Regions from separate parts of the Homo sapiens genome. Here region 2 is linked to region 1. Evidence: promoter capture Hi-C in 16 types of primary human blood cells and fetal thymus (Javierre and others, 2016). All regions are on one chromosome and are shown on one strand. The core of a region is centred on a gene start or on the middle of the fragment in contact, and the rest is flanking DNA. Distances in the headings are between cores, read along the strand shown.

Evidence for each region. The method cuts DNA at HindIII sites, captures the fragments that hold promoters and counts their contacts. A CHiCAGO score of 5 or more calls a contact.
Region 2: a contact is called between a fragment that was not itself captured here and the fragment with the promoter of PBX3 in region 1, in 1 of 17 cell types (megakaryocytes). The highest score is 7.8, in megakaryocytes.

The regions. Positions count from the first base shown.
Region 1 is chr9:125,744,547-125,748,911 of GRCh38, forward strand. It overlaps PBX3 (PBX homeobox 3), which reads left to right and starts at 2,827. Exons shown (of 9, transcript NM_006195.6): 1 at 2,827-3,107; 2 at 4,004-4,077. The coding sequence starts at 2,908. PBX3-DT (PBX3 divergent transcript) reads right to left here and starts at 1,383. Exons shown (of 2, transcript NR_122032.1): 1 at 870-1,383. RefSeq lists silencers at 1,922-2,351, 2,602-2,651, 2,662-3,191, 3,462-3,801. The HindIII fragment of the contact is 3,823 bases long and covers 665-4,365 here.
Region 2 is chr9:126,216,908-126,221,272 of GRCh38, forward strand. No RefSeq gene overlaps it. Among named protein-coding and RNA genes, the nearest start is that of MVB12B, 110 kb to the right of the region's middle. The HindIII fragment of the contact is 3,975 bases long and covers 170-4,144 here.

The DNA of each region.
Region 1 (4,365 bases), core at 1,577-4,076:
TGGGGTTTCACCATGTTGGCCAGGCTGGTCTCAACTCCTGACCTTGTGATCCACCTGCCTCGGCCTCCCAAAGTTCTGAGATTACAGGCATGAGCCACCGGCCTATTTACATTTTTATATATGTTGCTTTGCTTACATAACTCATTGTTCGGAGTGGGCTAGAAATAACCATAAATCCCCATTGCTAATTAGCCTCATCCTCATGACTGATTAGTCAAGATTATGAGTCTAGAAGGAGGGCAGAGAGGAGTCCTAATAGTGAGTCACAGGATTATTGAATTTTACAGCTGGAAGGAATCTTAGAATTTAAGGCATCTTTCAGTTAGAATTCTGTGGTTTTGCATCCTCAGCGTTGGAGAATTATGAAAGGTTGACCGCTTGCTCCTGCGCCTTTTGGCAAAAATGCTTAAGAATTTGGTGACAGCTTTAAAAAACAAATTAAGAATAAAGAAAAAACCCAATCAATGACGATTATAAGTAACCCATAATGGGGGCTTCAAAGAAGAATTGGAAACTTGACATATCAATGGGGTATAGAAGAGCAGAGAATATTAATGAACATGAAGGGGGTTCTTCTTTGGAGGTAAGTAAGCAGAGTGGATTTTTTGGAACTCCCTCCTCAGCAGCTGTGCAGTTTGTAAGGATTTTAGCTTGCCTAACTGTAAGCTTAGCTATTAGCTTTGCAGTGGGGAGTATTTAAAAGTACACACAACATATGAAGGAAAGAACCTGGAACCGAGTAGCCTGCTTCATTCCAAGAATCCATCTGGCATTTAAAGAACTGCTTGTCCTACATTAAACCCTGCAGAGTAAGAGCCATTTTTCATATCCTCATACCCCTATTTTTGGTTTCAGGTAAGACAGCTTACTGAGTTTGGAGAAGGAACAAAGAGACTTTTCCGAACCACCGAACCAAAGGACTCATCTAGGGTGAGCTCAATGAATCTAAAATCGGGAACACACATTGCAGCCCCTGTTTGGGAAATCAGCTTAAGAGCAATCTCAAGTCTCCACAAGAGGCGGAGGTCCATATTCCAAAATAATGTGAGCCTTCAGTTATTTGTAGGTAGAATTCAATGGAAGAAGGGGTGTTATAGATACGAAAAATCGTGGCTGGCGTTACCAACATTAAATGACTCGTGGTGATGGGGTAAGTTGACAAGTGAAATCCAGTCTCTTCCTAAACAAACGTATCTTTGTAATGAAGAGCTCGTTTTTGCAGCTTCAGTACATCTGGAGGCATCGAATAGCAAACGCTGCCAAAGGAGTAGTCCCTGGATTATCAGGAGTTGCAGAGTGTGTAAAGTGTTGTAAACCTTGAAATTAGTCCTGGACTGAAGGCACTTTCCCTCCTCCCAGACTCGCTTCTCTCTGACACATTTCCCCTTTCAATGGAAAGTCTATGGCAGTCAGGTCCACTCAGCTCAGACTTCAAGTATGTGAGACCACAGGTTCCCACCTTAACTGGTCACCCATTGAGGGACAGCACAAGACCCCGGTGCTGGCGCCAACGCTGAGCTGCGCCCTCTCGGTTACCATGGCGACCGCAGGCGGGGCGAGGCCCCCACTCGCCGCTTCCCCGCCTCTGCCCAGAACCTTTCGAACGCTCCAATTGGGACGACCCTTTCTTGCCTCTGTCCCGCCCCATTCGGCTCTAAGCGCTTTGCGATTGGCCCGGGACGAGCGGCCTGGTACCCAGAGGGCACCACCTCCTGACAGGAAGAGCGGGAAAGTGCACCAGGAGCTGTCCGAGGCGTGAAGCTCACGGGCGCGGCGGGGGAGCACACGGTTGGCTTTGCAGCGAGTTGCCCACTGTCCCATACACAACCCCCCGCTCCCATGACTGCCAAAAGCATGGAGCAGGAGTCGGGGTGCGGGCACACCGTTTGTGGGCCGGCCCGGTCTATCCCGGGGGGCTAGGACGCGACGAGGTTGGAGCGAGGATCCGGCGGCACACTCCGGAGCGCGGAGTATCAGAGGCCAGAGGGAACGGGCCGGGCCCCGGGGGCGGTGCCGGCGGCGGCGGCGGGAGGCGCAGAGCCCAATGAGCGCGCGCACCGCCCCGGGGGCGGGGTCTGAGGAGCGCTCCCCCGCCCTTGCCAGCCCCCGTCCCTCCCCCCGGCGCGGGGCCGCAGTGAGTGAGTGGCACTGGCAGCCTGTCAATCCCTCGGCCCAGCGGCCTTCCAGCCCGGTCCGCGGCGGCTGCTGGCTGGGTGCGCGGCTCCGGCGGCGGCGGCGGCGACTTCTCCCGCCCTATCCATCGGCTGTCCGCCCGGCGCGCGGCCCGCCGGGGCCCTCCTCCGGGCTCAGCGCCCCCGCCGCCTCTGCCCGCCCGCTCCCAAACTTTCCTCCTCCGCCCCCCCTCGCTCCCCGCGGCCCGCCCGCAGGCCTCCTCCTCCGCCGCCGCCCGCCGCCGCCGCCGCTGCCTCCCCCGGGGCCGCCGGGGCTCGGATCCCGCCTGGCCGAGGCGGCGGCGGCGGCCGAGGAGGGCAGTGCGCAGGCTGGCGCGGGGGGCGGCGGGCGTCCCGGCAACTCGGCGGGCGCTGAGGAGCAAGTTGCGCGGGGCCGCCCGGCGGGGCGCGCGGCGGCGAGGAGGCGGCGCGGCGGCCGCGTGAGGGCAGCGGGCGCCGCCGCCTCCGCCTCCGCCACCGCCGCGGAGCCCGGCGCTTCCGCCCGCCGCTTCTCCTCAGCCTCGGCGGCGGCGGAAGCCGGAGCCGGGCGCCCGTCCTCATCGCCTCAGCCGCGGGCCCTGCCGGCCGGGCCGCCCCCTCCCCGCGCGGGCGGGGAGCGCGCGGCCGCCTCCCCCTCCCCCTCCCCCTCTTTCTTCTCCTCCCTCGTCGCCGCCGCCGCCGCCGCCGCCTCAGCCTTCGCCTCAGCCGCCGCCCGCTCCCGCCCGCGCGCGGCGGGATGGACGATCAATCCAGGATGCTGCAGACTCTGGCCGGGGTGAACCTGGCTGGCCACTCGGTGCAGGGGGGCATGGCCCTGCCGCCTCCCCCGCACGGCCACGAAGGGGCGGACGGCGACGGCAGGAAGCAGGACATCGGCGACATCCTCCACCAGATCATGACCATCACCGACCAGAGCTTGGACGAGGCGCAAGCAAAGTTGGTGTCGTCTCATTAAGCATCTTTTGTGTGTGTGCGGGAGCCGGGCCCGCGGCCGAGTCGAGGCCCGGGGTGGCGCCCGGGGCTAGGGCCGCAGCCCCCGGCGGGGAACTTTCTCCGAAAGCCGGCCGCCCGCCCCGGCCTCGGGGGGACTTGCCCGCGCCCCCCGAAGCGGGCGGGAGTCGGCAAAGTTGCTCTGGGGGGCTCGGGACGGACTCGGTGCGGCGCGGATTCCGTGGCGTCCTTTCCCCCGTCCTGCCCCTCGCAGCCCGGCCCCCTCCCAGGGATTTAAACCTCCCGCCCCGACCCCGTGCGGGCCGCGCCGCCGGGAAGTGTAACTTTCTCCTCCGGCGGGGAGTCCCGGCGCCGGCTCCCGCGGCCGCGGGACGACCTCGCGATGCGGGCGGCCACCCGGGCCCGGCGCGGGGCGATGGGCGGTTCCCTGGCGGGTCCGGGTGCGGACGGCCAAGTTCTCGGAGAGGGAGGGCCGCCTTGCAAACTTTGCCGAGCTGTCACCCTCCCGCTGGCCGCAGTCGGCCGGCCTCCTCTGCACAGGAGCGGACGCGGGAGCCCCTCCGCACCCGTCCCCTCCCCCGGGTCGCCTTCGCCTGCCCCCGGGGCGAGGCTCCCCGCGCGGGTTCGCGTCGCGTCTGCAGTGGCCGAGGCTGCTGCCTGCCGGGCAGATGGGTCCGCCTTGTTCCGGCTGCAGCTTTCGCCGCCGGGGCTTGCTGGCTGTCGGGAACTAGTCAACTGGAGTTTTTGTTGACTTCCCACGGTTCAAAAGGGCCTTCCAGAATGGGGGGCTGGAATTAAATCTTGGGTCTAACTTAAAGGAAGGCGCCATATTATTCCATAGGTGATGCTAATACCTTTGTGTTTCGTTATTTGTTTTTTAGGAAACATGCCCTGAACTGTCACAGAATGAAACCAGCGCTCTTCAGCGTCCTGTGTGAGATCAAAGAGAAAACAGGTAAGACGCTGCGCCCCGCAGTGGGCCTGGAGACCCCCGAGGTGGGGGTCGGAGCTACTCCTTCGACTCTCCAGTTGAGAGCTGCTGCTTTTGGGCACCGCCATCTTTGATCATTCTCTCCTTCCCACGTCCTGATCTTGAGAAAAAACTGCAATAAATCTGGAGTCAATTTCTCAGTTCTGCTCCTGGTGTAAAATGAAGTGTAGGTGCGGACCGGGCTGGATCGCCGTCCCTCGGCGGCCGCCCCTGGCTGCAGGCGGGGAGGGGGCCCGGAGCGCCAGCCGCCCT
Region 2 (4,365 bases), core at 907-3,406, 470 kb after region 1:
TATAAAAGATAAAAGCAGGTTAGAAAACATTATGTATAATATAATCCAAAGTTTGTAAAAAGAAGTTTATCTATGCATAGAAAAATAAGACTGGCAGGAAATAAGACAACATGGACTGTGGTTTTGTCTGGGCGGTGAGATAATGAATGAGTTTTCTTTTTCATTTTCAAGCTTACGTATTTTCCAAATTTTATCCAAGAACCATCCATTATTTTGTAACTAAAAATGTGATTTTAAAAGTAACTATTATTATAATCATATTAAAATAGCCCAAAGTTTCCAGAACAGAGTCGGGCAGCAAAGCAGCCCACAGGTTCTTGAAAAAGCACCGTCCAGCCAAACCCCCAGGGACATTCAAGATTGGCTTCCTTACAACTGCAGAAAACCCATATGCGATGTATTCTGTCTCTAGAAGGGCAAAGGTGGGCCACTGGGGGTGGGGCAGCAGGCCTGGGATGTGGCCAGTGGGTACCAGGCGCTCACAGGCATCAGTGGGTAATTACATCTCCTTTTAACACATGCAAATTGTATCAGTATTATTTATATATTCAAAGCCACGGATGAATAATATATGCATTTATGCAGAGGTAATTGCCTTAGCCAGGTTCTTCCTGGGACTTTTATTGTCTCCCCAGATACTGAATATTCAACTCCTCTCTCCCGACTGGAGCTCGGGGTGCAGTGTGCTGTGTGCAGCCCCAGCCTCCTCCAGGGAAGGGGAGAAGGCTGAGCAGGGAAGGAGGCCTCAATTTGAGGTGTATGGGTAATGAGGCTGAGGGTCAGGGCTCTGGACTTGCAACCCCAGCTGCTTCCTCCCTGGCTCACCCCTGGTTCAGGGATGACACCCAGCTTCCTTCTTTGGTGCAAACTCTAGTACTGCAAGAGTCTGTTAAACCTGGGTGTTCGCCTGCATCCATGCAACCAGCACCACCAAAAAGGCCACCACCTCCTTTGCCCTATTGACAGCCTTGCTTAAGAATCTCTCACCTTAACCCGTGCATTTTTACAAACTGCTGCAGCCAGATCAGTTTAGGCTGTGACCGTGGCGGGCAGTTCTGGTCTCTGTGGGGGCATCCCGGGTAGACACCCTCCCATCTCATGCAGCCTCCTCTATTTGGTGCAGTGTGGCCCAGCCCTGGCCATGCCCCGTGGGAGTGCAAGAGGAAGCAAGGAAGCAGGAAGCATTGTTCTAGATGTCTTCAATGAAGACGCAGGAAACAAAGTTAGATTGCAGTGAGTGAAGGGTGCAGTGGAGAGCCAGACTCACTGTCAAGGGAGTAGATCTCTAAGCCTAGCCTTGCTTTTTGGTGCTTTCTGTGCACCTCTTGTCTGAAAAGGTGTCACTTTGGGGGAAATGAGCTCAGGGGCAGCACCTGCAACCCCCACCGCCCTCCCCAGGGTGAGGCCATGAGCCCACGAAGAGATCCCATATAGACTATTTTAAGAAAGTTGGCAGAGTAAGGAAATTGAGAGCTTTGATGAAATGAGAAATTTGCTCCCAGGGAAATTTTAAGAGATGGGACAGCATAAGGTTTCATGGCAGGATGTGCCAGGGAAGGGGAGGCGGCTGGGGACCCCAGAAGAGGAGGGCTCTCGGTGGAGGGGGTTTCTGGGGAGATGAGATGAAATGGGGGTGTGGGCACAGGCAGAGGCAGCGCCCTTCAGGAGCAGAGACCCCCATTCTCCTGAGGCCGAGGGGAAGCAGGGCAGAGGCTGTGAGTCCAAGAGACGTGCAAGTTTGGCAGAGGCAGGCAGGAGCTCTGATCTGTGCCTTCTGTTCTGTCCATTAACTGTGAGATGAAATTCCAGAGAGCAAGTGGAGGGGTGGGGAGAGGGGATCCTTGGGGACATAGGAAAAGTTTGGAATAACTGCTGAGAGGGTGGAGGAGGGGTCCGACATCCTCTCTGGCCCCCAGTCTTACCAGGCTTTCACTCTGCTACCACACCAAAGTGCCCTCGGTCAAGGTCTCCAGTGACCTCCTGACCTCCTTGTTGCCCAATCCACTCATATCTGTCCTCTAGCCAGCACTTGACATGGTCATTCGCACCTTCCTCCTGAAAACACTGCCTCTGCTTGGCTTCCAAGATGCTCTCAGTTGTGCTCCCACCTCTCTGACCATCCTCCCTGGCCTCCTTTGCTGGTTCCTCCTCTTCTCATCCTAAAACCCCGACGTGCTCAGGGCTCAGGCCTCAGACACCTCCAGCTGCACACACTCCTCAGGTGGCCCCTTCCTGTGTTATGTCTTCCAATCCCGTCACATGGCTGAGTCCCTGAGTTTAGCCTCCAGCCCTGGCCTCCCCCTGCCTCCAAGCCTGCACACACAGGGGCCCGGTCCACAATTCCCTGTGACTGTGCACTGAGCACCATATACCTGACATGGCCACAGCCACGCTCCTGATTGTCCTCCCTAAACCCTCCTCCATGGCAACCCCATTGTCCCAGCTGCTCAGGCCAAAACCTGGGAGATATTCTTGACACCTCCCCTTCTCCCTCAACTCACCTCCAACCCATAAGGAAACTCATCAGCAATTCCCTTGACATTCATCCCCAACCAGACCACAAAAGTGGTCAAAAGGCCACCTCCACCACTGCCACCCTAGTGCAAGCCTGTGTCAGTCACAGTCAACCTGGATGGCCAGGGCAGCCTCCTACCTATCTCTCTGCCTCCATCCAGCAATTTATGCATGAGTCCCAGGCACCTCTCACAACACAGGGCTGACACTGCTGCTTCTTCACTCCAAGCCCTCCTCCAGGGGGCCCACCTCACTTCAAAGGCCAGCCACAACCCCAAAGCCCTCCACAATCTGCTCCCCTCCCTGCCCCCCTTCTCCGACCTCCTCTCCCGCAACCCCCTCCCTGCTCTCGGTGTCCAGCCACACTGGCTGTCGCTGCTTGGGGCTGGCCTGGGGCCCTGCCTTGGGCTGTGGGTGGCAGCTGTTCCAGTTCAATCAGCTTAAAAATCATTTGAGGTGATGTGGAAACCCACCTGCCGACTCCACATCAGGAGACGCCCAGATACGGCCAACTGCACAGCCAGGTCACGCCCCCACAGGGTCAGCATCTGCTCCGTGATGCACGGGGCATGGGGACAGAGTGGCCACTGGGGACGCTGCAGATGGCCAAGGGGTTGTCATTAACCAAAGAGCAGCAGGATCCAGGCCCTGGCTTGGGGTAAATAATGGGAGGGGAGGGAGGAGGTTGACTCATTGGAGAGGGTATATTTTTTAAATTTTTGCCATAAAAATTGCAAACATTCAAAGGTAGAGCTGATAATATCATGAGCCCTCTGCAGCCTTCACGAGTTTCAATCATGATCAACTCATAACCAATTTTGTTTCATCCATTTTACCATTTGCTCTCCCTCAATTATTTTGAAGCAAATCCCAGAGATAATAACATTTCAACCCAGGCAATGACTCTTGTTTCTTTACCTCTAGGACTAGATTGCACTGTCACAATAAGCGTGGGGTTCTGGGCTCTTGGATACCCCAGCCTTCTCTCTGGGCCGGTTTCTATTAAAGGACAATGTCCTAGGTGAAATAGTGATTTTTCAGGAAATGATATTAGCAGGAAGGATAGTTGAAGGTGGCCACTCAGGGACTTTCAGAGTGCCAAGCCTGGAGCTTGGGCCAAACTGGCAGGGTAGGGCACCAAAGCCAGGGACAGGGGAGCCAGGTAGCCTCCTGAAACCCTTTATAAAGTGACTTATGGAAAAATTTGGATCCCAGTTGAAGTCTCAAGAGACCTTCAGCAGTAATTGACAAGCCAATTCTAAAATTTATGTGGAAAAGCAAAGGACCTACGATAGATAACATCATTAATCTTTAAAAAGAAGATTCACTCTACCTGATTTTCAACCTTACTCAAAAGGTACAGTAATCAAGACAGTGAGGTCCAGCACAAGGGCAGAAAAATGGATCAACAAACTCAAATAGAGTCCAGAAACAGACTCACAGATAGAGAATCCATTGATTTTTCTTTTTTTTTTAACAAAGGCAGCAAGGCTATTCAATATGAAAAGGAAAGGCTTTTCAACAATTAGTGCTGGCACAACTGAATAAATGAATGTGAAAAAAAACTCAACCCCTACCTCACACCACACAAAAATTAATTCAAGATGAAGCATAAAAGCTAAATCTATAAAGCTTCTACAAGCAATTATAGGAGAAATACATTCCTAGGCAAAGATTAATTTGAGAGGACAGAAGAAAGCATGAACTGAGAGAAAAAGTTGATAAACTGGACTTTATTAAAGTTAAAAACTGCTTATCAAAATATACTGATAATTAACAGGCAAGCTACAGATTTGGAGAAAATATTCACAATACACATATCTAGCACAGAACTTGTCTTTTTTTTTTTTT